4 separate regions of the Homo sapiens genome follow, and all the other regions are linked to region 3. Evidence: promoter capture Hi-C in human tissues and cell types (Jung and others, 2019). All regions are on one chromosome and are shown on one strand. The core of a region is centred on a gene start or on the middle of the fragment in contact, and the rest is flanking DNA. Distances in the headings are between cores, read along the strand shown. Region 1 overlaps GTF2IRD1 (GTF2I repeat domain containing 1). Region 2 overlaps GTF2IRD1 (GTF2I repeat domain containing 1). Region 3 holds the start of CLIP2 (CAP-Gly domain containing linker protein 2). Region 4 holds the start of GTF2I (general transcription factor IIi).

Evidence for each region. Contacts are between HindIII fragments. The study calls those that stand out against the background at their distance.
Region 1: a fragment that was not itself captured here is called in contact with the fragment with the promoter of CLIP2 in region 3 in 2 of the 25 tissues and cell types used here (dorsolateral prefrontal cortex and lymphoblastoid cells).
Region 2: a fragment that was not itself captured here is called in contact with the fragment with the promoter of CLIP2 in region 3 in 1 of the 25 tissues and cell types used here (heart right ventricle).
Region 4: the fragment with the promoter of GTF2I here is called in contact with the fragment with the promoter of CLIP2 in region 3 in 1 of the 25 tissues and cell types used here (spleen).

What each region holds. Positions count from the first base shown.
Region 1 is chr7:74,554,023-74,559,567 of GRCh38, reverse strand. GTF2IRD1 (GTF2I repeat domain containing 1) reads right to left here. Exons shown (of 27, transcript NM_005685.4): 18 at 4,345-4,394; 19 at 4,074-4,130; 20 at 1,846-1,929; 21 at 524-707. Among named protein-coding and RNA genes, the nearest start is that of WBSCR23, 24 kb to the right of the region's middle. The HindIII fragment of the contact is 4,062 bases long and covers 2,244-5,545 here.
Region 2 is chr7:74,584,125-74,589,913 of GRCh38, reverse strand. GTF2IRD1 (GTF2I repeat domain containing 1) reads right to left here. Exons shown (of 27, transcript NM_005685.4): 23 at 1-63. Among named protein-coding and RNA genes, the nearest start is that of MIR10525, 8.9 kb to the left of the region's middle. RefSeq lists enhancers at 1,831-1,990, 2,011-2,060, 1,540-2,126, 2,127-2,714. The HindIII fragment of the contact is 6,527 bases long and covers 788-5,789 here.
Region 3 is chr7:74,285,323-74,291,002 of GRCh38, reverse strand. CLIP2 (CAP-Gly domain containing linker protein 2) reads right to left here and starts at 1,596. Exons shown (of 17, transcript NM_003388.5): 1 at 1,269-1,596. It overlaps LOC107986742 (a long non-coding RNA gene), which reads left to right and starts at 1,696. Exons shown (of 2, transcript XR_001745024.2): 1 at 1,696-1,941. RefSeq lists enhancers at 1-597, 598-1,242 and silencers at 1,118-1,187, 1,208-1,677. The HindIII fragment of the contact is 6,317 bases long and covers 1-4,469 here.
Region 4 is chr7:74,656,085-74,661,718 of GRCh38, reverse strand. GTF2I (general transcription factor IIi) reads right to left here and starts at 4,001. Exons shown (of 35, transcript NM_032999.4): 1 at 3,651-4,001. RefSeq lists enhancers at 228-507, 1-543, 1,432-1,571, 4,022-4,071, 4,092-4,211 and 1 more and silencers at 2,842-3,361, 3,432-3,721, 3,742-3,921, 4,292-4,451. The HindIII fragment of the contact is 40,491 bases long and covers 1-5,634 here.

The DNA.
Region 1 (5,545 bases), core at 3,025-5,524, 270 kb before region 3:
CCCTGGGATTCAGTGGCCTCGGTCTCCCCTGGGAGCACCCCAGACCTACAGCAGCAGAATCTGCATTTTAACAAGCTGCCCTGGGGCTCTGTGTGTGCGGGACACTGAGACAATGTGGCAGGGTGCTGGCATTGGCAGTGTCACTCTGCAGGACGCAGACCTGGGCCTTGTGCAGGCTTTGCCCTGGCTGGCCCCGGGACCTTGGGCAAATCCCTCTGATGGGGGCTGAATACCTTTCCCGGGGGCTGGGGGTGCAGTGAGCGGGTGTTGCTGAACAGGTTGAAGATGCCCTCAAAGGCTGCCCTTGCCATGGGGGGGTGACCAGTCCCACTTCTGAAGGGCTCCCTTCACTTGGGCTGGCCTGCAGTCCCTCTCCAACCACCCCCAGGACCCAGGATGGTGCCAGGAGAGCCACCTTGTCCAGGGGGGAGGGCAGGACCTAGGGAAAGGCTAAGGATTCGCAGGTGCAAGCTCCCATCTGAGCTAGTCCTGCCTCTTCACCCTCACCCTTCCCACTGAGTACCTGGTGACTGTGAACTTGATCTTGTCAGCCACAGCAAGAATCCTCTCCAGGTTCTGGGAGCCGAAGGTACAGGGCTTTCGGAACGGGATTCCTGGGGGCAGCCCCTCGATGATCACGGAGCCGGGGTTACTCTTGATCCGCTTGTAGGGGACCTGGACCGGGTACTTGATGCCCAAGGCTTCCCCTGTGGGCGAGAGGCAGGGTCCTGCCCGTCAGGAGTGAGAGGCAGCGTGGGGTGTGTGTACATGGGATTGCGGGGATGTGATGGAAAGACATGCGTGCAGGAGAGTGAATGGTACGAGAAAGCTCTTATGTAGTGTAGCACTGTGGAAAGGTATAGGCATTACAATCTGAGCTGTTTGATCAGAACATAAAAAAAAGGCCAGCATGGTGGCTTATGCCCGTAATCCCAGCATTTTGGGGAACCAAGGCAGGAGGATCTCTTAAGTCTAAGAGTTCGAGATCAGCCTGGGCAACACAGCAAGACCCTGTCTTTACTAAAAATTTCTAAAAACTAGTTGGGCATGGTAGTGCCCAGTGGGGTGTAGTTCCAGCCACTTGGGAGGCTGAGGCAGGAGGATTGCTTGAGCCCAGGAGTTTGAGGCTGTAGTGAACCATGATCACGCCACTGTACTCCAGCATGGGTGACAGAGTGAGACCCTGTCTCAAAAAAAAAAAAAAAAAAAAAAAAAAAAAAGAAACGAAAGAAAAAGCCACACCAATATGCTCCCATGTCATATGCTCCATTTTTTTTTTTTTTTTTTTGAGACGGAGTTTCGCTTTTGTTGCCTAGGCTGGAATGCAATGGCGCGATCTCAGCTCACTGCAACCTCCCCCTCGCAGGCTCAAGCGATTCTCCTGCTTCAGCTTCCTGAGTAGCTGGGACCACAGGTGTGCACCACTGCACCTGGCTAATTTCTTTTTTGTGTTTTTGGTAGAGATGGGGTTTTGCCATGTTGCCCAGGCTGGCCTCGAACTCCTGAGCTCAAGTGATCCACCTGCCTCAGCCTCCAAAAGTGCTGGGATTACAGGCAGGAGCCACTGTGCCGGGCCCTTGTCTATTAAATTCTGTGTGTAGTTCTTGAAAGTGTATCTCACCTCATTGGTCTGCAAGGCTCATGAGTACAGGGACTGTGTCTGTTTTATTCACAGCAATATCCCCAGTGCCTGAGACAGTGCCTGGCACGTAGTATATGCTCAAGAAATACATGTAAAGGGGTGAATTGTTTCCCCAGAAATGCCCTCGGCTGGAACTGGGAAGCCTCCCACTTCTCTGTGCACAGCAGCTGCGTGTCCCTCCCCGGGGGTTCTGCACTGCTTACCGTATTTCTTATTGAAAAGGTCCTGGACCTGCTCCCTTAGTGTGTTGGCGATGTCGATCCGTGAGAGCCTCGCGTCATAATTTTCTGCAAAGCGCAAAACGATTATGGGTTTGGGCTGTTGAGTGAAAAAGCACTTGGTGACTTTTAAGGAAGATGATTTTCTAATTATGGGGAACTCCTTCTCCGGCAATTAAAGGATCTTTGGAGTGGGCCCCTCAGGTCCTTCAGCACCGACATGTTGATGGAGATGTCTTTTTTTCAGAAGGACATGCACTGTTGCCACAACAGTGATGAGTTGGAAATTAAGTTAATTGATGACATTTGAAAACCACCAAACCAATAAATAAGCCCCGGAGGGGAGGGACACCATAGAGTACGGAGTCCTGTGCCCTGGGCTGGCAGGCAGGGGGCGGGGGCTTCATGAAGTCACTAGGGGGCTGGAGACAAGCGAGGGAATGGAAGCCCAGCTGATCTAGCAGATGGAGGAGGATGGGCAGTCCCCACAGACACAGGGGATGGGCCTGGCGGCTCCCAATGGAACCTCCACCTCCCAGGCTCAGGCGATTCTCCTGCTTCAGCCTTCTGAGTAGCTGGGACCACAGGCGTGCACCACCGCACCTGGCTAATTTCTTTTTTGTGTTTTTGGTAGAGATGGGGTTTCGCCATGTTGCCCAGGCTGGCCTCGAACCCCCAAGCTCAAGTGATCTGCCTGCCTCAGCCTCCAAAAGTGCTGGGATTACAGGCATGAGCCACCAAGACACCCTCACCCAGAAAGTGTTCATTAAAAACGCCCAAGTGTGACCGGGCGCGGCGGCTCATGCCTGTAACCCCAGCATTTTGGGAAGCTGAGGCAGGAGGATCACCTGAGGGCAGGAGTTGGAAACCAGCCTGGCCAATGTGGTGAAACCCTATCTCTACTAAAAATACAAAAATTAGCCAGGCATGGTGGTGCGTACCTGTAATCCCAGCTACTTGGGAGGCTGAGGCAAGAGAACCCCTTGAACCTGGGAGGTGGAGGTTGTAGTGAGCCAAGATCGCACCACTGCACTCCAGCCTGGGTGACAGAGCAAGACTCTGTCTCAAAAAAAAAAAAAAAAAAAAAGCTGGGTGCAGTGGTTCATGCCTGTAATCCCAACACTTTGGGAGGCTGAGGTGGGCAGATCATCTGAGGTCAGGAGCTCGAGACCAGCCTGTCCAACATGGTGAAACCCCGTCTCTACTAAAAAATACAAAAATTAGCCGGGTGTGGTGGCACGTGCCTATAATCCCAGCTACTTGGGAGCCTGAGGCAGGAGAATTGCTTGAACCCGGGAAGCGGAGGTTGCAGTGGGCTGAGATCACGCCATTGCACTCCAGCCTGGGCAACAAGAGTAAAACTCCATCCAAACAAACAAACAAAGACAAGTGCCAGCATGTGCTGGAGGGATCCCAGACCACCATCTCTCTCTCTCTCTCTCTTTCTTTTTTTTTTGAGACAGGGTCTTGCTCTGTCACCCAGGCTGGAGTGCAGTGGCATGATCTCGGCTCACTGCAATCTCCGCCTCCCAGGTTCAAGCGATTCTCCCGCCTTAGCCTCCCTAGTAGCTGGGATCACAGGTGCACGCCACCTCGCCCAACTAATTCTTGTATTTTTTTGGTAGACACGGGGTTTCACCATGTTGGCCAGGCTGGTCTTGAACTCCTGGCCTCAAGTGATCCACCTGCCTCGGCCGCCCAAAGTGCTGGGATTACAGGCGTGAGCCACTGCACTCGGCCTCTGATTTCTTTTCTTAAAAATAGACATAGAGACGGGTTCTATGTTGTCCAGGCTTGTCTCGAGCTCCCAGCCTCAAGCGATCCTCCCACCTTGACCTTCCCAAGTGCTGAGATTACAGGCGTGAGGTGCCGCGTCTGGCTCCTATTCTGATTTCAAAGCACTAAGACCACAGCTGATTGCTGAAAAAGGAGTGGGCGTGTCAGCTACCTCTGGGGGGTGGGGCAGGGAGGGGGCAGGCAGGCTCCTGGGCTCCCCCGACCGTCCACCTGTAGGCACCCCCTCTCCCCTGGAGTCTCTAACACAGAGCTGGCAGGGTACAGCCGGGCCTGGGCTGCCAACCTGGCTTGCCTGGTCCCTTAGGCCCTGAAGTTGGGGGCCAGCTCCTCCCCACTTCCAGCCTGGCCCTCCAAACCCAAACCAGGTCAATGTCCTGGTGCTGGGACAACAGACCTCCCCGTGAGCTCAACCTTACCTTGAAAGCCCTGTCTCTTCAGGCTCTCGTCCACCAGAGGGTCCCCGGAATCCCTCTCTGGGGGCAGGGCAGGGGGAGAGAAGCCAAGTGAGGAGGCAGTTCCTGGGACCCAAGATGGCATCGTTAGGGGAAACCCAATGTGGGGGTGTGGGGAGAATGCCAGGGCCAGGATGGGAGCAGGACAGAGGCAGCAGGAGGAGGGGCTGGTGGCAGAGGCCTGGGGCCCTCCCTTGCCCGCCCACACCATGGCTCCCGACCCCGCGCTGGGTACCTTGACTATCCATGATGGGCTCTTTGACTCCCTCAGTGAGCAGCTCGGGCCTGGAAAACACAAGCGAGGCTATCACAGAGGTCCCTCCAAGCATCTCTGGGACTGCTCAGCCCTCCTCTCTGGGCCTCAGTCTACACAGCCCTGCAATGGACCCTTCTGGCTATGCATAGTTCAGGCCTGGAGTCCCTGCCGCCCCACATGTGGAATCTGGGGGGCTGCGCTGGGCTTGAAGGATCCAGCTGGGAGTGAGACCCCCCCCAGTCCTGAACAGGTCCATCTGATATCTCACTCCTGCTCCAGGGACATTGCACGATTGTCACTGCCTGGGATTGGAGCAGGTGGCCTCAGGTGGCCTCCCGTGGAGCTGGTTTAAAGTGTAGAAACAAGGTCAGGTGCAGTAGCTCACGCCTGTAATCCCAGCATTTTGGGAGGCCGAGGAGGGCAGATCACTTGAGGTCAGGAGTCTGAGACCAGCCTGGCCAACATGGTGAAACCCGTCTCTACTAAAAATACAAAAATTAGCCAGGTGTGGTGGCAGGTGCCTATAATCCCAGCTACTTGGGAGGCTGAGGGAGGGGAATGGCTTGAACCCAGGAGGCAGAGGTTGCAGTGAACTGAGATAGCACCACTGCACTCCAGCCTGGGTGACAGAGTAAGACTCCGTCTCAAAATGAAAGAAAAGAGTAGAAACAGTCGGGGCCCACTACGAAGCAAGAACTCCAAGCTTCTGGAAAGGTCTGAGATCTACGGCTCACGTCTGAGAGCTGCTGTGTTACTGCAGTCGGAAGCACCAGTGACCAAGCCCAGCTCTGTATTATGCTAATGTCTTTAGCTCCACAGACTCCAGAAAGCCCTGTCCAGACATGAGTCAACCTTCTTTGTCATACAGCACTGCTTCTGAAGGCCCCATCTTCAGCACAACTTGTCCTGTTAGAGCAAGCCTGTTGTGGGGCTGGGGTTTGTGGTGGGTAGAGGACACTGGGAAAATCATGCTGGCCAGAAGGGGGCTGTCGGGGGATGGCAGGGTAGGCCATGGAGCAGAGAGGTAATGAGCTCTCTGGAGAGGTAATGGGCCTGGAGAGGTAATGAGCTCTCTGTCACAGGGGTAATCAAGCAGCAACTCCGAGGAGTCTCTGCCTGGGAGTGAGCCCAAAGGCCAAACTCTCAGGGAGGGCACCCCTGGGGTCCCCAGTAGATGAGG
Region 2 (5,789 bases), core at 2,802-5,301, 300 kb before region 3:
AGAGTTCCTTCACCTGCTCCCGCAGGATCACCTTCTCCCCGAGTCTGTTGGCGTCATCTTCATCTACAAGAGGAAGACAAGGGGGCATGAGAGTTGGCACCAGCTTAGCCACTGGACCTGCTGCTTCTCCCACCAGGCGTCCCTGATCTGCCAAAACATTACATTCTCTGCAGGGCCGACCCACTCCTATATAGCTGTTTTTTTTTTTTTCCTTTTGAGACAGAGTCTCGCTCTGTTGCCCAGGCTGGAGTGCAGTGGCGTGATCTCAGCTCACTGCAACCTCTGCCTTCTGGGTTCAAGCGAATTCTCCTGCCTCACCATCCCAAGTAGCTGGGATCACAGGCACGTGCCACCATGCCCAGCTAATTTTTGTATTTTTAGTAGAGATGGGGTTTCACCATGTTGCCCAGGCTGGTCTCAAACTCCTGGCTCAGGTGATCCACCCGCCTCAGCCTCCCAAAGTGCTGGGATTACAGGTGTGAGCCACTGTGCCTGGCTGCAGCTGGTTTCTAGCATCAGTTATTGGTCTGTCCCTCCATCCATTTTTCTTTTTTTGAGACACGGTCTTGCTCTGTCACCCAGGCTGGAAGGCAGCAGTGGATCATAGATAGCTCACGGCAGCCTCCAACTCCCAGGCTCAAGTGATCCTCCCACCTCAGCCTCCTGAGTAGCTGGGAATAAAGATGTGTGCCACCATGCCTAATTTTTTAAAGTTTTTGTACAGATGGAGTCTCGCTATGTTTCCCAGGCTGAAGTGATCCTCTTGCTGGCCTCAAGTGATCCTCTTGCTTTGCCCTCCCAAAGTTCAGGAATTACAGATGTGAGCCACGGTGGCCAGCCCATCCCACATTTTTTTATCAGTGTCCCCAGCACAGGCCCTGTGTTGGGCACAAAACAACCTAAAGAGAAGAGGCAGGGCTGCTTCCCTGAGGGGCTCCCAGCCAGAGGGGGTGTCATCTGGTCACTAAAGTACAACAGGACACACTTAGGAGACAAGGGGCATGAATGAGGGTGCCCACCCTCTGTGGGCAAGTCTGGGGAGACCTCCCCCAAGAGAGAAGGATGCTTGAATGGGCTCTCAAGGCCTGACATGGTGGCTCATGCCTATAATCCCAGCACTTTGGGAGGCAGAGGCAGGCAGATTACTTGAGGCCAGGAGTTCGAGACCATTCTGGCCAACATGGTGAAACCCCGTCTGTACTAAAAATACAAAAAGATTAGCTGGGCATGTGGCGGGCACCTGTAGTCCCAGCTACTCAGGAGGGTGAGGTAGGAGAATCACTTGAGCCTGGAAGGTGGAGGTTGCAGTGAGCAGAGATCACGTCACTGCAGTCCAGCCCGGGAGACAGAGACCTGTCTCAAACAAAAATGAAAACAAACAAACAAACAAAAAATGGGCTCCAAAAAGGCAGGTAGGAGTTTGTGAAGGACGGAGTGGCAGTGGGAAGCCACCAGGACAGAAGGACCAGCCATGCATAGGCACTCAAGCGTGAAAGATCTTGTGTTGGCTGGGTGCGGTGGCTCACGCCTGTAACCCCAGCACTGAGGGAGGCTGAGATTGGCAGATCACCAGAGGTCAGGAGTTTGAGACCACCCTGGCCAACATAGCGAAACCCCGTCTCTACTAAAAATACAAAAATTAGCCGAGTGTGGTGGCGGGCACCTGTAATCCCAACTACTCAAGAGATTGAGACAGGAGAACTGCTTGAACCCAGGAGGCGGAGGTTGCAGTGAGCTGAGATCGCGCCACTGCACTCCAGCCTGGGCAACAAGAGCGAAACTCCGTCTCAAAAAAAAAAAAAAAAAAGAAAAGAAAAGAAAAAAAGAAAAAGATCCCATGTCCTGGAAGTGGCTGAACTTTGGGGTGGTACAGGGGAGATGACTGATGGGCCTAGTGGGGTCCATGCACAGGGGCCGGTGTCACTGTGCTGGGCTGTTGGAAATCCCCTGACCGCTCGCTGACCAAGGTCTGTGAATGGGAAACAGACCGTGTCTGGGAGTGTGGGGGCCGTGCATTCTCCCTGCTCACTGCCCAGGTAACCGTCACGGCCTATCTGCTGCTTGAGCCCTGGTGTGCTCTGCTCTCCCCTCCCTGTAGCCTAGAGGAGCTGCTGGAGTCAGTTAGCCCTGGAGATGGGGCCTGAGCTGGGCTGTAAGGCTGAGTGGGGGTTGGGCTGGAGATGGGGTCTGGGGCAGAGCTCTGCAGCAGCCTGTGGGCTTGTGCCAGGGTTGAGGACGGGGCTGGGATTGCAGGAAGGGTGGTTTGCATGTCCAACAGGAAATCTCCTCTCTGAGAAGCGTGGGGTCACATGGGCTGGGCCTCTTGGGGCAGGCGGGTTCGGTAAGGGTGAGATGTTGTGGGGTGGAGCTAGACGCAGGCAGGGAGCCAGGGCCGGATGATTCAGGGCAGAGCAGACTGATGGGTCTTTGGAGCAAAATGACTCCTGTTTTTTTTTCTTTTTGTTTTTCCAAGACAGAGTCTCACTCTGTTGCCCAGGCTGGAGTGCAGTGGCACGGTCTCGGTTCGCTGCAACCTCTGCCTCCCAGGTTCAAGCCATTCTCCTGCGTCAGCCTCCTGAGAGCTGGGACTACAGGCGCCTGCCACAACGTCCGGTTAATTTTTGTATATTTAGTAGAGATGGGGTTTTGCCATATTGGCCAGGGTGGTCTCAAACTCCTGAGCTCAGGTGATCTGCCTGCCTCGGTCTCCCAAAGTGCTGGGATTACAGGCGTGAGCCACTGTGCCCAGCCTGACTCCTGTTTTTTGAGACAGGGTCTCACCCTGTTTCCCAGGTTGGAGTACAGTGGTGCCATCATAGCTCACTGCAGCCTTGAACTCTTTGGCTCAAGCAATCCTCCCCACTCAGCCTCTCAAGTAGCTGGGGCTCCAGGCATGAATCACCATGCCAGACTAAGTTTTTTTAAAATTTTTTGTAGAGAGAGTCTCTCTCTGTTGCACAGGCTGTTCTCGAACTCCTAAGCTCAAGCGATCCTCCTGTCCGCAGCCTCCGAAAGTGCTGGGATTACAGTTGTGAGCCACTGTGTCTGGCTCTTTTAATCTTGAAAACTCTGGGAAGAGCTCACTTCTGTTTAGGAGGCTGCCTTGGGAACTGCATCTCCTGGCGTGGTGCTCTGTGCTGCTTAGAGTCTGCTGACCCCGTCTGGGTGGCTTGGCCTCCCGTGCGCAAGCTGCCAGAATGGAGGCCCTGTTCCCCATGTGGGGGTTGCCCCAAAGAGCAGGGAGCTTCCCACAGGACAGAGGCTGGGCACCTGCTTGGCCTGGTTCCTCCTTTTCCCAGGGCTCCAACACCCACCACCTCAGGTCCTCCCAAACCCTGCAGGTCCCTGGCCTGGTCCGTCCACACCCACACTCAGCAATCTCTGCACATCTCTGAGTTGCTGATCTGTCTTCAGGCACGGCCCGCCAGCCCCCCTGCGTGCCCAGAGACACTGCAAACATCAGCCATTCCAGACAACGTCCTCCTCCCGTGTCCCTATCTCGTGGAGTAATGCCTCTAATTCAGCCACACAAAGACCCCACGCTCCACATCCCCTAGAACCCTCGTCTTCTCCTGTGACCCAACACGGGCCTTCCTTTCAGGACTAGGATGTGGGAAGAATCAAGGCCACCCTTGTCCAAATCCATGCAGACAACAGTGATGGAGTCCTGGGCCCAAGGACCAGCTCCTAGAGCCTGCAGGGAAGCAACAGCACATTCCATCTGTCCCCATGCCACTGAGGAATCTTTGGTGGCAGGATTCTCAGCAGGCATGGCCATGCATGCACAGAACAGAGAAAGGATGGCCTGGATCACACACATCACTGTGTGCAGATGCTTTCCTAGACACTGCAGCCAAAGACACAGAGGCTCAGAGAGGTAAAGAAACTTGCCCAAGGTCACACAGCCTCTAAGCACCAGGAGTACTCTGTGTCAACCCCAAAGCCCTGGTCTTTCCACTCTACCATGAGCCCTGGGTTTCCTGAGGTCTCAGATTCCTCTACAGTTTCTTTCTTTTTCTTTTTTTTTTTGGAAGAGTCTTGCTCTGTCACCCAGGCTGGACTGGAGTGCAGTGGTGCGATCTTGGCTCACTGCAACCTCTGCCTGCTGGGTTCAAGTGATTCTCCTGCCTCAGCCTCTCGAGTATCTGGGATTACAGGCACCCACCATCACACCTGGCTGATTTTTGTATTTTTAGTAGAGATGGGGTTTCACCATGTTACTCAGGCTGGTCTCCAACTCCTGGCCTCAGGTGATTCGCCCACCTCGGCCTCCCAAAGTGCTGGGATTACAGACGTGAACCACCATGCCCAGGCTCCCCTACAGTAGCTGTAGAAAGAAGGCTTAATCTTTAAGATAGTTTCCTCTAATCTGTTGCTCTCAGCCCACAATGCCACACCTCTGTCTTCTCCTGTGTCGGGACAGAGCGAGACTCAAAGTCAGAGCTCTACGAAACCTGCAGGACAGAAAGAAGCTTAGCAGGCCTCTCAAAGACGAGGCCCAGACCGGGCACGGTGACTCACGCCTATAATCCCAGCACTCTCAGAGGCCGAGGCAGGTGGATCACTTGAGGTCAGGAGTTCCAGACCAGCCTGGCCAACATGGTGAAACCCCGTCTCTACTAAAAATACAAAAAATTAGCTGGGCGTGGTGGTGCATGCCTGTAATCCCAGTTACTCAGGAGGCTGAAGCAGGAGAATCCCTTGAACTGGGAGGTGGAGGTTGCAGTGAGCTGAGATTGCGCCACTGCACTCCAGCCTAGGCGACAGAGCAAGACTCCGTCTCAAAAAAAAAAAAAAAAAAAACACCAAACAGGCTGGGCGCGGTGGCTCACATCTGTAATCCCAGCACTTTGGGAGGCCGAGGTGGGTGGATCACCTGAGCTCAGAAGTTCGAGACCAGCCTGTCCAACGTGGTGAAACCCCGTCTCAACTAAAAGTACAAAATTTAGCCAGGCGTGGTGGCAGGTGCCTGTAATCCCAGCTACTCCGGGGGCGGAGGCAGGAGAATCGCTTAAACCTGGGAGGCGGAGGTTACAGAGAGCCAAGATCGCGCCATCGTACTCCAGCCTGGGGGACAAGAGCGAGACTTCATCTCAAAACAACAACAACACACAAAAAACCCAAACAAACAAAAAACATGGGACCCCAAACTTACTATGCCAAAGGGAAATGTTAAGCTTGGGAACTGAGTCACGCAATAGCCTTTTGTTCCTAAACAGATGGCTGCAAGATAGAAGGCCACCTAGCTCCCCTGGTGGCCTCCCTCACCCTGGCCATGTAAATTCACAGCTTATCTTCACAGGCAGGGGACAAAGATAAGAATAGAAATCATTGCTCTGTCTACCCAAGACAAATGCCTATATGACTTCCTCTACTCTATTTACTTTATCTTATGTAAAAGGCAGATTTACTGAGCACAGGATAAATACATCATTAACTATTCCTCTTCCCCCTTTATTTTTTTATTTTTCGAGACAGAGTCTCCCTGTTTTCCAGGCTGGAGTGCAGTGGCATGATTTTGGCTCACTGCAACCTCCGCCTACCGGGTTCGAGTGATTCTCGTGCCTCAGCCTCCAGAGTAGCTGGGATTACAGGTACCCGCCACCACACCTGGCTAATTTTTTGTATTTTTAGTAGAGATGGGGTTTTGTTATGCTGCCCAGGCCAGTCTCGAACTCCTGACCTCAGGTGATCCACCTGGCTTGGCCTCCCAAAGTGCTGTGAGCCACCGTACCCAGGCCCTCTTTCCCCTTTAAATACCAAAGTCCTCAAAACTCTGGAAAAAAGCA
Region 3 (5,680 bases), core at 347-2,846:
GCAACCTGGCAGCAAACTTCTGCAAGATGCTCTATGAAGCTTCCTGGTCTGCCCCATCCTCCAGGGGACCCCCTCTATGCCCCCAGCTTCCCCACTAATGCACTCATCAACCCCCGGGGCTGCACTTTTTGGGGACACCGAGGCTGCTGTCCTGTGGACCAGCCAGCCCCTAGAAGTGCCAGGCCAGGTAACAGCAGCTGAATGAAGGGCTTATTGTTTACATTTACAACCGAAAGGGAAGAGGCTTCTGAAGCACACACGTGGTGCTCCCCGCACCCTCCTCCTCCTCTGCCCACAGCCCTAGGCCACCCCACCCACCTCCCTCAGGCATCGCGCAAGAGTGACGGCAGACCCCCTCATCCCAGACCCCCACTTCTCACCCAGAAGTGAGAGGAGGGGTCTCAGACGTTGGGGGACACACTGCTGGGTGGGTGATTTCCCCCCAAGGTGCTCCCTCTGCCCGTCCTTCCCAGGGTGGGGCTGGGGCCTGCGTGGCAGTGCCCAGTGGGCACCCGCTCGGCCCAAGCTCTGCCTGAAAGGTCCAAACGGGCGGGCCCTGAAGGTTCAGCCAAGCATCCTCCGCGGCCGCCGCCCCTCCCCGGGAGGAGGGCAGAAAATCTGCTGCCTCACCAGCCACCAGCGCCAGCTTGGGGGGACACCCCCTGAGAGAAGCCGCCCGCCTCAATCTCCTCCTACCCCACCTCAGCCAAGCACTTCAACCAAGTTTTGCAAAGGCCATCGGCCAGGCGACCCCAGAGGGTGTAGCAGGGAGGAGAGGGGGGCAGTCCCTGTTCTCCCAGACCCCAGGTTTGGAGATGGGGGCTGCATGGCCGCGCCCACCAGGCTGTGCTCCCCAGGCTCTGTGAGCCCAGAGAGCCCTGCGGCGCGTCCAGCCGTCTTGCTCTGCCCTTGGAAGGGGGTACGGGCGACCCTCCAACAGAAGGGCCAAACCCCCGTCCGAGGGTAGGGACCCCGATGAGGCTGGTGATGCCTTCAACAGGGGGACCCGCAGCCCGGGAATAGCCCCCAACCCTGGCACCCCAAGCAGTGCCCCCTCCTCTCCTACAAGCAACGGGGAAGTTGGGGCACACCCCAGCCAGCTCCCGCCCACGCCCACCGGCCGGCCTCGAACCCTCCCGCCCCCGCCCACGCCCCGACAATGCCTCCGGGCCCGCAGCCCCGCTTTCGGCCAGGCCGCCGCCCCCCGCATCTCTCCGTCCTTTGTTGCCCGCGCGACCCCCTCCCTCGGCCCCTCCAGCAGCCCCTACCTTCGTCCTTCCAGCATCAGGCTAAGCGGCGGGAGGCCCGGAGAGCCCCGGCCTCCTCCTCTCGGGCCCGGGCGCGCTGGGGGGCGAGGATGCTGCGGCCCCTCCCTGCGCGGCGCTGCCCACCGGCTGCACCCCCTCCTGGCGCCGGGGATCCCCGCGATAGGTGCTCAGGGCCCGGGCCTCGCGCCACGTCTCTGGGAAGGCGGGAGGCGCGCACCGAGGCCGCCCAGCAGCCGCCTGCGCGCCCCGCGGCCGAGCCGAGCTGAGCGCCCGCGGAGCCAGCGGAGCCAGCGGAGCCAGCGGCCCGGCTCCGGGAGGGAACAAAAGGGGCCGGCGCAGGGGCGGGCGCGGGAGGGCGGGGCCTGGGGCGGGCGGGAGGGGGGGGCGGGTCAGGCGCGCGTGGGCGGCCTCGCGGTTTTCAGGCCTCAGTGCCTCGCGGAAAGCAGGCGGGCGGGCGGAAAACGCGGAGCAACCTCTTCCCCCTCTCCCCGCTCCATCTCCTTCCCTTCCCAGGCCGCAGCTGTCCTTTGTGGGGCGTCCAGGGTTCGCCCACATCCACCTCCGCGCTGGGCACCTGGTGGTGCTTACATCGCGTTTGGTGAAACGCATCCTCCAGCCATGCTATGCTTGCAAAGATGTCTCTGGTCATTGGGAAGGACGGCAGCTTGGGAAGGTGAGATGCTGTTGGCGCTGGACAGAAAGGATGAGGAGGGGGACAGTGCAGCTGGGGCGAAAACTTCAGGTCTGTGTTGGGGCCAGCGTGGGTGGGGAACTGTGGCACAGGGTCTCATGGTTATCAAGGATCTCATAGCCTGGGCAGTGTCTCACGCCTGTAATCCCAGCACTTCAGGAAGCCAAGGCGTGCAGATCGCCTGAGGCCAAGAGTCCGAGAACAACCTGGGCAACGTAACCTTCGTCTCTACAAAAAATACAAAAATTAGCTGGGCGCGCGCCTGCGGTCCCAGCTACTGGGGAGGCTGGGGTGGGAGGATCGCTGGAGCCCAGGAGGTCGAGGCTGCAGTGAGTCATGATCAAGCCACGGCCCTTCAGCCTGGGTGACAGAGCGAGACTCCGTCCCAAAAGAAAAAAAAAAAAGGATCTCATGGTGATCAGCTTCCAAGATACAAATGAACCCTCCCCAGGACAGGATGCATGTACTGCTATTTCAGAGGAGTTGAGGCAGCTGCCAGGTCCCCTCCTGCGTGGAGAGGCAGATGCCAAGTGACAGCTCAGGAACTAAACAGTGACCAAGCCCCAGCCCCTGTCCATGCCCAGGCTGCGGTTGGCTTCTGTGGCTTGGTTTCCCTCTGTCCCCCCTTGATAAGCTCGCCTGGATGCCTTTGACCTAGCTGGCCGTTCTACCAGTCCTGCCCTGCCCCCTTTCTCTGTTTGACAAATCATATTCCCCCTTCAAAGCACAGCTTAAATGTCCCTGCTTTTCCCTTGAGTGCAGGAATGTGGGTGTTGGGGGAGGTTGTGGTCTGTATGGTGAGACCACTGTTCTGCGGGAGAGAAGTGCCACATACGATCTTGTTCCTATCCCCTAAGGGACCCAGTGCAATGCTTGGCAGAGGGTAGACATCCAGTAATATTTGTTGAATGAATGAATGAACTTACTAAGTTAACATTACCACCCCTCAACTGTCTTGGTATCCATAATCTTTGAGAAGTGAGTGAACCTTTTTTTAGAGAAGGGGTCTCACTCTGTCACCCAGGCTGGAGTGCAGTGGTGTGATTACAGCTCACTGCAGCCTCAAACTCCCAGGCTCAAATGATCCTCCTGCCTCAGCCTCCAGAGTAGCTGGGACTACGGGCATGCACCATGCCCGGCTAATTTTTTGTGTTTTTTATAGAGATGGGGTCTCATTATGTTGGGGTCCAGGCTGGTCTTAAACTCTTGGCTTCAGATGATCTTCCCACCTCAGCCTCCCAAAGTGCTGGGATTACAGCTGTGAGCCACCGTGCCTGGCCTAAACATTTTGACCTCAGTTTCCCCATCTGTAAATTGGGGAGAGTGTTTCAATTCAGTTCAGCGAACATGCAATGCTGTAATGATGGAGGCTGGGCATGGGGTCAGCCCTGAGGGGGTGCCCAGTTGGTGTGGAGAGCCAGACTTGGAGACTAATAAGGGAGGAGGTTCAGAGTGAACTCCAGAAAGACTGGGCTTCTGTAGGAGGTGTGAACCCATAGGGAGGGAGGGGACTCAGGGTGGAGAGGGCAGTGTTCAGGAAACAGGGAGCTAATTGTTCCTTGTGGCTGGGATGCATAACCTGTATATCAACAGTTATAAACCAGCCAGGCACAGTGGCTCACACCTGTAATCCCAGCACTTTAGGAGGTGGTGGCGGGCAGATAACCTGAGGTCAGGAGTGCGAGACCAGCCTGGCCAACGTGATGAAACCCCATCTCTACAGAAGATGCAAAAAATAGCTGGGTGTGGTGGTACATGCCTGTAATCCCAGCTACTCGGGAGGGTGAAGCTTGAGAATGGCTTGAACCCAGAAGGCGAAGGTTGCAGTGAGTGGAGATCATACCACTACACTCCAGCCTGGGCAACAGAAGGGATGGGATGGGATGGGACGGGACGGGACGGGATGGGGCAGGGATTTGCCAAGGTGACATGGGTCTTGCTGGGATGTACCTGAGCTCACCAGCCCCTGCCCAGCAGATCTAGCCTCCCACATGTGCCTCAGGAGGTAGGCAGGGGCCCCCAACCTTCACAGGTACTGCCTCCCTCACTGATGGCCCCCAGTATTATTCAGAGCAACAGCCTGCGGTCAACAGACCTTACCTGGCCGCTGGTGAGTGGAGCTTCAAAGAGCAAGTCACCTGAGAGGGACACCTTTTGTTCTTGCTCCAGATGAGAGAAGACAGGCTTCTGTCTTGTTACAGTTTGCATTTGGGGGGCCGGGCACAGTGGCTCACACCTGTAATCCCAGCACTTTGGGAGGCCAAGGCGGGCGGATCACAAGGTCAGGAGTTCGAGACCAGCCTGGCCAACATGGTGAAACTCCGTCTCTACTTAAAATACAAAAAATTAGCCGGGCATGGTGGCACACACCTGTAATCCCAACTACTTGGGAGGCTGAGGCAGGAGAATCACTTGAACCCGGGAGGCGGAGGTTGCAGTGAGCTGAGATCGCACCATTGCACTCCAGCCTGGGCAACAAGAGCAAGACTTTGTCTCAAAAAAAAAAAAAAAAAAAAGTTTGCGTTCGAGTTTTTCTGCTTCTTTCAGTAGATGAACCTGATGCTGTCTGATGTGAGGGTTGGGGTCCTGGCCTTGGCCCCTGCCCTGGCATCAGGCCTCCGTGATGGGTGGGGAGGCAGGCGGGGGGATCTGGAGGGGGTGTTCTCCCAGCCGACCTCTCACCCAGGCCTTTTGTCTCCACTGAAACTGCTGATTTGGTCATTTTCTTGCTGACGCCGGCTGTGACCAGCAGCCTCACGGGAGGATTTTTCATGGGAAGAGAGAGTTGGGAATAATTTTCGAGCCAGAGCTGAATTCTCTGAGGCCTGCAATGGGCCAGCCACGGGAGAGGCCTGGGCTGCTTTGCAGGTGGCGATCTCTCTGGTATACTATTTATTTATTTATTTATTTGTTTATTTATTATTTTACTTTTTCAGGGGTAGAGACAGAGGCTTTCTATGTTGCCCAGGCTGGTCTCGAAATCCTGGCCTCAAGTGATCCTCCCACCTCGGCCTCCCAAAGCGCTGGGATTACAGGCTCTGGGCACCACGCCTGGCCTATTTTTATTTTTTTATTTTTCATTTTAGAATCCATAGGACAGCTACAGGATGGGATATGTTTGCAGTGTCTGAACTGCTGTTTACAAGGCATTTGTTATAATGTGGGGAAACAGTTACGTATTTACACCCACCAGGAAAATACACTTCATGAAACTGCGGATATGGAGCCAAGCTTAGTGCCTCATGCCTGTCATCCCAGCGAGTGGGGAGACTGAGGTGGGAGGATCACTTGAGCCCACGAGTTGGAGGCTATAGTGAGTTATGATCATACCATTGCACTCCAGCCTGGGCAACAGAGCAAGATCCCATTTTATTTTATTTTATTTTTAAAATTGTGGGCCAGTTGTGGTGGCTCATGCCTGTAATCCCAGCACTTTGGGAGGCCAAGGCAGGAGGATTGCCTGAGCCCCAGAGTTGGAGACCAGCCTGGGCAACATGATGAAACCCTGTCTCTACTAAAAACACAAAAAGCTAGCCAGGCATGGTGGCACATGCCCGTAATCCCAGCTACTCAGGAGGCTGATGCAGGAGAATCGCTTGAACCCGGGAGGCGGAGGTTGTAGTGAGCCAAGATCGTACCACTACAGTCCAGCCTCGGTGAAAAAGTGAGACCTTGTCTCAAAAAAACTGGTAACTGTGGTGGGCTTTGGGTGGGGGGAATC
Region 4 (5,634 bases), core at 2,752-5,251, 370 kb before region 3:
TTTTCATTCTTTAACATCTATTTTATTTTTATTTTTTTTGAGACACAGTCTCGCTCTGTCGCCCAGGCTGGAGTGCAGTGGTGAGATCTCATCTCACTGCAACCTCCACCTCCTGGGTTCAAGAGATCCCCCTGCCTCAGCCTCCCCAAGTAGCTGAAACTACGTACGCACGCCACCACACCCGGCTAATTTTTGTATTTTTAGTACAGACGGGGTTTCGCCATGTCGGCAGGCTGGTCTCCAACTCCTGACTTCAGGTGTTCCACCTCCCTCGGCCTCCCAAAGTGCTGGGATTACAGGTGTGAGCCACCGCACCCGGCCAAGATCTAATTTTAAAGTAAGAAAAAGCAAATATCTCCAATAAATTTCTCTCCCTTCATTTTGCACCATTGTGAATGGTTCTCAAAGGGCTGTCCGGGAAGCAGCCACCATCAACACCACCTGGGGAGCTAATCGAAATGCAAATTGTGGGGCAACTCCCCAGACCTGCAGAATCAGCCTGGGAGGTAGGGCCCAGCAAGCAGAGTCCGCACATGCCAGCTCTCCCGGGGACGCCCAGGCGCGGTGGTTTCACAACCTCGGCTTAGGGGTTGAGTCACACTGGCCAGGTTCATGTGCTAGGCAAGCAAGAGTACAGAACTCTCCAACTTCTCTAGACTTGTTCCGCTCTATAGAATAGAATTACAGACTTGTCACAAAGATTAAATAAGAAAAATACTGTACATCCAAAGCGCTCAAGAGCCATGGAGGGGGCACGGAAGACACTCAAATGTAAGCAGCATTGCTACCACCGGCAAGGCACGAGGACGATGCCAAACTGGAGGGGGAAGTGGAGGGAGAAAGACATAGGAGGAAAAGGCTTCTTGTCCCTGCCCCTACGAGCTCAACACCCAGTGACTAGGCCAGATGCAGAGGAAAGTAAAAGTGCCCTTAGCCGGGCGTGGTGGAGCGCTCCTGTAATCCCAGCTACTCAGGAGTCTGAAGCAGGAGAATCGCTTGAACCCGGGAGGCGGAGGTTGCAGTGAGCCGAGATCGCGCCACTGCACTCCAGCCTGGGCAACGAGAGCGAAACTCCGCTTCCGAAAAAAAAAAAAAAAGAAAAGAAAAGAAAAAGGAAAAGGAAAAAAAAGAGAGAAAATAAAGGTGCCCTGCGAGGAAGGGCACACAAGTTGATTGGGAGACTAAGAAGGAACAAACTCTGACTATGCAATATAAGAGAAGACCACAGGCCGGGAGCGGTGGCTCACGCCTGTAATCCCAGCACTTTCGGAGACCGAGGCAGGCGGATCACCTGAAGTCAGGAGTTCAAGACCAGCCTGACAAACATGGCGAAACACCGTCTCTATTAAAAATACAAATATTAGCGGGGCTTGGGGGCAGGCGCCTGTAATCCCAGCTACTCGGGGGAGACTGAGGCAGGAAAATCGCTTGAACCCGGGAGGTGGAGGTTGCAGTGAGCGAAGATCGCGCCACTGCACTCCAGCCTGGGGGGATAGAACGAAACCCTCTCAACAACAGCAGCAAAAAAAAAAAAAAAAGAGAAGACCTTAAGGAAGTGGCTGCATATGAGCAAGAAAGATTTCCATAGGCTGAAAAATGTCATTCCAGCCAAAAGACCAAGATCTCAAGGAGGAGGAGAAACGAAAGCCAAGGTAGCAGCCACAGAAAAATCCTGTAGCAGGAAATAAAATCGGTCATCCCACACCACAGGCCTCAGCCTGGGGAGAAGACCCCGCCTCCGCAGGGCACTCTACCTGCACGTTCTCATTTGCAAACTAACTTCCCCTTTTGTTCCCTGAAGGACTGGAGACTTCTCCTCTGCACTGTTGGCTGATCAAGCCATTGTCTGCGGCAAAGTTGAATTTAAAAGAGATGAGGCCCAGCGTGGTGGCTCAAGCCTGTACTCCCACCACTTTGGGAGGCCTAAACGGGAGGATCACCAGAGTCCAGGAGTTCCCGACCAGCCTAGGCAACACAAGAAGACCCCATCTCTAAAAAAAAATTTTAAATTAGCCAGGCGTGACCCAGGGCGGTGGCTCACGCCTGTAATCCCAGCACTTTGGTGGCAGGCCGAGGCGGGCCGATTGCTTTCAGCTTGATTCAAGAGTTGGAGACCAGCCTGGCCAACATGGTGAAACGCCATCTCTACTAAAAATACAAAAATTAGCCGGGCGTGGTGGGCACGCCTGTAATCCCAGCTACTCAGGAGGCTGAGGCAGGAGAACGGCTTGAACCCGGGAGGCAGAGGTTGCAGTGAGCCGAGATCACACCAGTGCACTTCAGCCTGGGCCACAGAGTGAGACTCCATCTCAAAAAAAAAAAAATTAGCAGGGCATGATGGCATGCGCCTGTAGTCCCAGCCACTGAGGAGGCTGAGGCAGGAGGATCGCTGGAGCCCAGGTGTTGGAGGCTGCAATGTGCTATGATTGTGCCACTCTGCGCTTCAGCCAGGGCAACACAGAGAGACCCTGTTTCTAAAAAAAAAAAAGAAAATTAAGCCGAAAGCGATGGCTCACACCTGTAATCCCAGCACTATGGGGGGCCAAGGTGGGAGGATCGCTTGAGCCTAGGAGTTCAAGACCAGCCTGGGCAACAAAGTGAGAACGCATCTCCACAAATAATTTTTTTTAAAAAAAGGAGGTCAGTAGTCAGCAAGAGCTGCGCATCGCCAAGAGTGGACACTACTCCAACAGCACCCCACCTGTGAACATCCCCAGCCGCAAATCAGCGCAAATCCATAACCTAGGGAGGACAAAATTCGCTACACGAAAAAGCAAAAGCTGGATTAAGAAAAAGTGGAGAAGTCGGGGAGCGGGAAGGAGACAGCTTTTTCCATTTCATTTTCCTTCTTCCTCTGCACTCCCGTCGTCTGGGTGCTGGCTGAACCCAGACGGCTTAATTTTCATGGCCTAAAGCTGAAGTTTTCCTTCCGGTCATTGTGTTTATTTCCCCCAAAGAACAGGCCCCGCGGGGCAGGCGCGCCGGGCCGGCCCGGGACAAAGCCCACTGCGGACTCCACCTGGGAGCGGGGCGGGGCGGGGGACAGCGCTCCCGCTCCCCCGCCCGCCGCAGTTACCAGGCAACGCGCGGCCCCGCCCCCGCGCCGGTTGGCCAATCCCGCGCGTCTGCTGCCCCGGCGCAGGAGCCCCAGATACACCAGGCGAGCGCGACCCCACGACGGCTCGGGCCTGGCACCGCGCGCGCCCCCGCACCGCCTAGCCGGCCAATCAGCGCGGCGGGGCATGCGCAGCCCGCAGGGCCGCTCGCTCGCTCGCGCGCGGGATCGCACGCGCGAGGCGCCCCCCCACCGCACGCCGGTCGGCGCGCGCGCCCCTCCCCCACGCGCACTGAGGCGCGCGCGTGCCACTGTCGTCCCCCGCGACCGCGTCCGTGCCGCCCCACCCCCATCGCCTCGTTTCGGCCACTGCCAAGGCCGGCGGGGCTCGAGACCCGGCGAGGCGGTGGGGGTGGGGGTAGGGGGAGGCGGCACGGGCGCCCCCCAAGGCCCCACACCGCGCGCGGCGGGCCGCGGCTCCCAGGCCCCTGTCCCTGCAGGCCCCGGCGGGGCAAAGTCTCTAATAAAGGCCCCCGCTCGCAATGGCCCCCGAGGCGGGGGCGGGGGGCGCGGGGATGAGGCGAGAGGGACTCACCCGAGTGCGGCCGCCTCCAGGCAGCTCCGGGGCCGGGGGTGCCGAGGGGAGGCGAGTGTGGGCCGCGCGCGGGCTGCGGCCGCCGCGGAGCAGCCTCGGCTGAGGGGAGCTGGCGAGCGGACGGGAGGCGAGAGGGGGCGAGGGGCCCGTGCGTGTCGGTCGCGCTCCTGTCACCGCCGCATGGCCGCCCCGCAGGCAGGGCCTCGCTCAGCGCCTTGATCCGATCACTGGGGGACAGAGGCAGAGGCCGGGGTGACCGCGGCAGGCGGGCGGCCGCGGCTGGAGAGCGCGTGCGGGGAAGCGGGGGGGCGACCGGTGGCCCCTTTTCTCTGCTCTCCCAGCTTCTCTCTCACCCTCCTCCTCCTCCTCCTTTTTTTTTTCTTTTTTTTCTTTTTTTTTTTTTTTTTTTTTTTTTTTGTTCCTCGAAGGCGCGTTGCGCCTGCGCATCCGCAGCGCCGCCCAGCGGGAGTTGTAGTTTCGGATGCGTTCCCCGTCAACGCGGCGGCGGCGGTCGTGGACTACAACTCCCAGGAAGCACCGCGCCGGCTAGCCCCGAACCCGAGGACGAGGCAAGCGCGGCGCCCGGCCCTCTCCAGCAAGGGCTGTCAATGGAGGCGAGGGTGGTGGGAGCGAGAACATGGCTGCACCTGGGGCCTGCGCGGCCGCCCGGGTGGGGGAGGGGAGCCGGGGTGCAGAAACGGAAATCTGGACGGGTGGTGGCTCCGGCGTCGTCCCCACCGAGCGCCAGCCGCCGTCCAAGTCCGCCACTTGCTCTTGCACCCCACATTCCTTGCAAATTGCGAGGCAGGGAAGCTGCAAAAGCCGGGGAGCCCCGGGCTGGGCCGTCGCCCTCCTTGCTCTGCAAAAGGGGAGTCCTTCCGCCTTGCACCACCCTCCAGGACACAAAGAACTCCTCTCTAGTGTTTTCCAAGCTGGCCTCCAAAGAGACCGTTGCCCCCAAGTTCGGACAGGCGAGAGGGGAGGAGACCTTGTGTTTTAATTCCTCCCCCAGACCCTCCGCCTCTATCTCTCCCTCAGGATTTGGAAGGAAACTTGCAAGGGAGTGGGAGCAGAAATCCTGACTCGTAGCTCCTGTTTTGTTCTGTCAACCGCGATGCGATTTAACTCAAACTCCTCCCCCTACCACTATTTTTTGCTTCTCAACTTGAATTAGCCGGTGGGTTTTGAAAATGGAGAGACATTACTGTTCACCTAAGTTAAACTCCAAAACTTTACAACCCCGAGGCCGACGATTTTTAGATGTTTATGTAAAGCACGAGATTGAGTGGTTTTTTGATTCCCGCCCGCCCCCCCACCCAGTACCACCCACTGGGGATTCGGGCCACGACGGCCATCCTCCCCCCACCCGCCGCTTCTCGGTAGGTGGCGACCACGACGCTTTTTCCAGCCTCCAAGCCTTTGTCGCTAGCGAGAAAACTTTCCGAGCAGCCAGTCTTTTGATGTGGGTTCCAAAAACCTTTCCTTTCAATCTGGGTTCTCCGATTGGCATTCCCCATCGTCTCTCTTGCACAGACCGCACCCAATAAAGCCTCCTCTAGAATTTTCATGTTGGATTTTTTTTGAAAAATACATGGAGAGCGTAAAGCTCACCGGAGAAGCAATCTGATTACAGAAGCCTGAATTTTTGCGATTTCCCGGACAATGTCTAGGATCCCTTCGGTCCTTGCCTAATAAGATTGTGACTCTCCTTTGTCGATTGTCTCGAAAGTCATTCATTAAGTTTGCACAAGAGCAACTTTCTTTTTGCACTTGTATTTCATTGACATTTAGTAATATTTAATTAAATTCTCTATTCCCAATACCACGTGCCACTGGCATATATTTAGGAACAAATTTAACTCTTGAGAAGCCTATAACTCACTCTAGTAAGAGCAGCCAGCCTACGAGATGCAGATTTCAGCTGCTGTGGACTTCAGTGAGTATCTTTTGTTGAGAGAGTGGTTTCTCCACCTGGAGGGGTCAG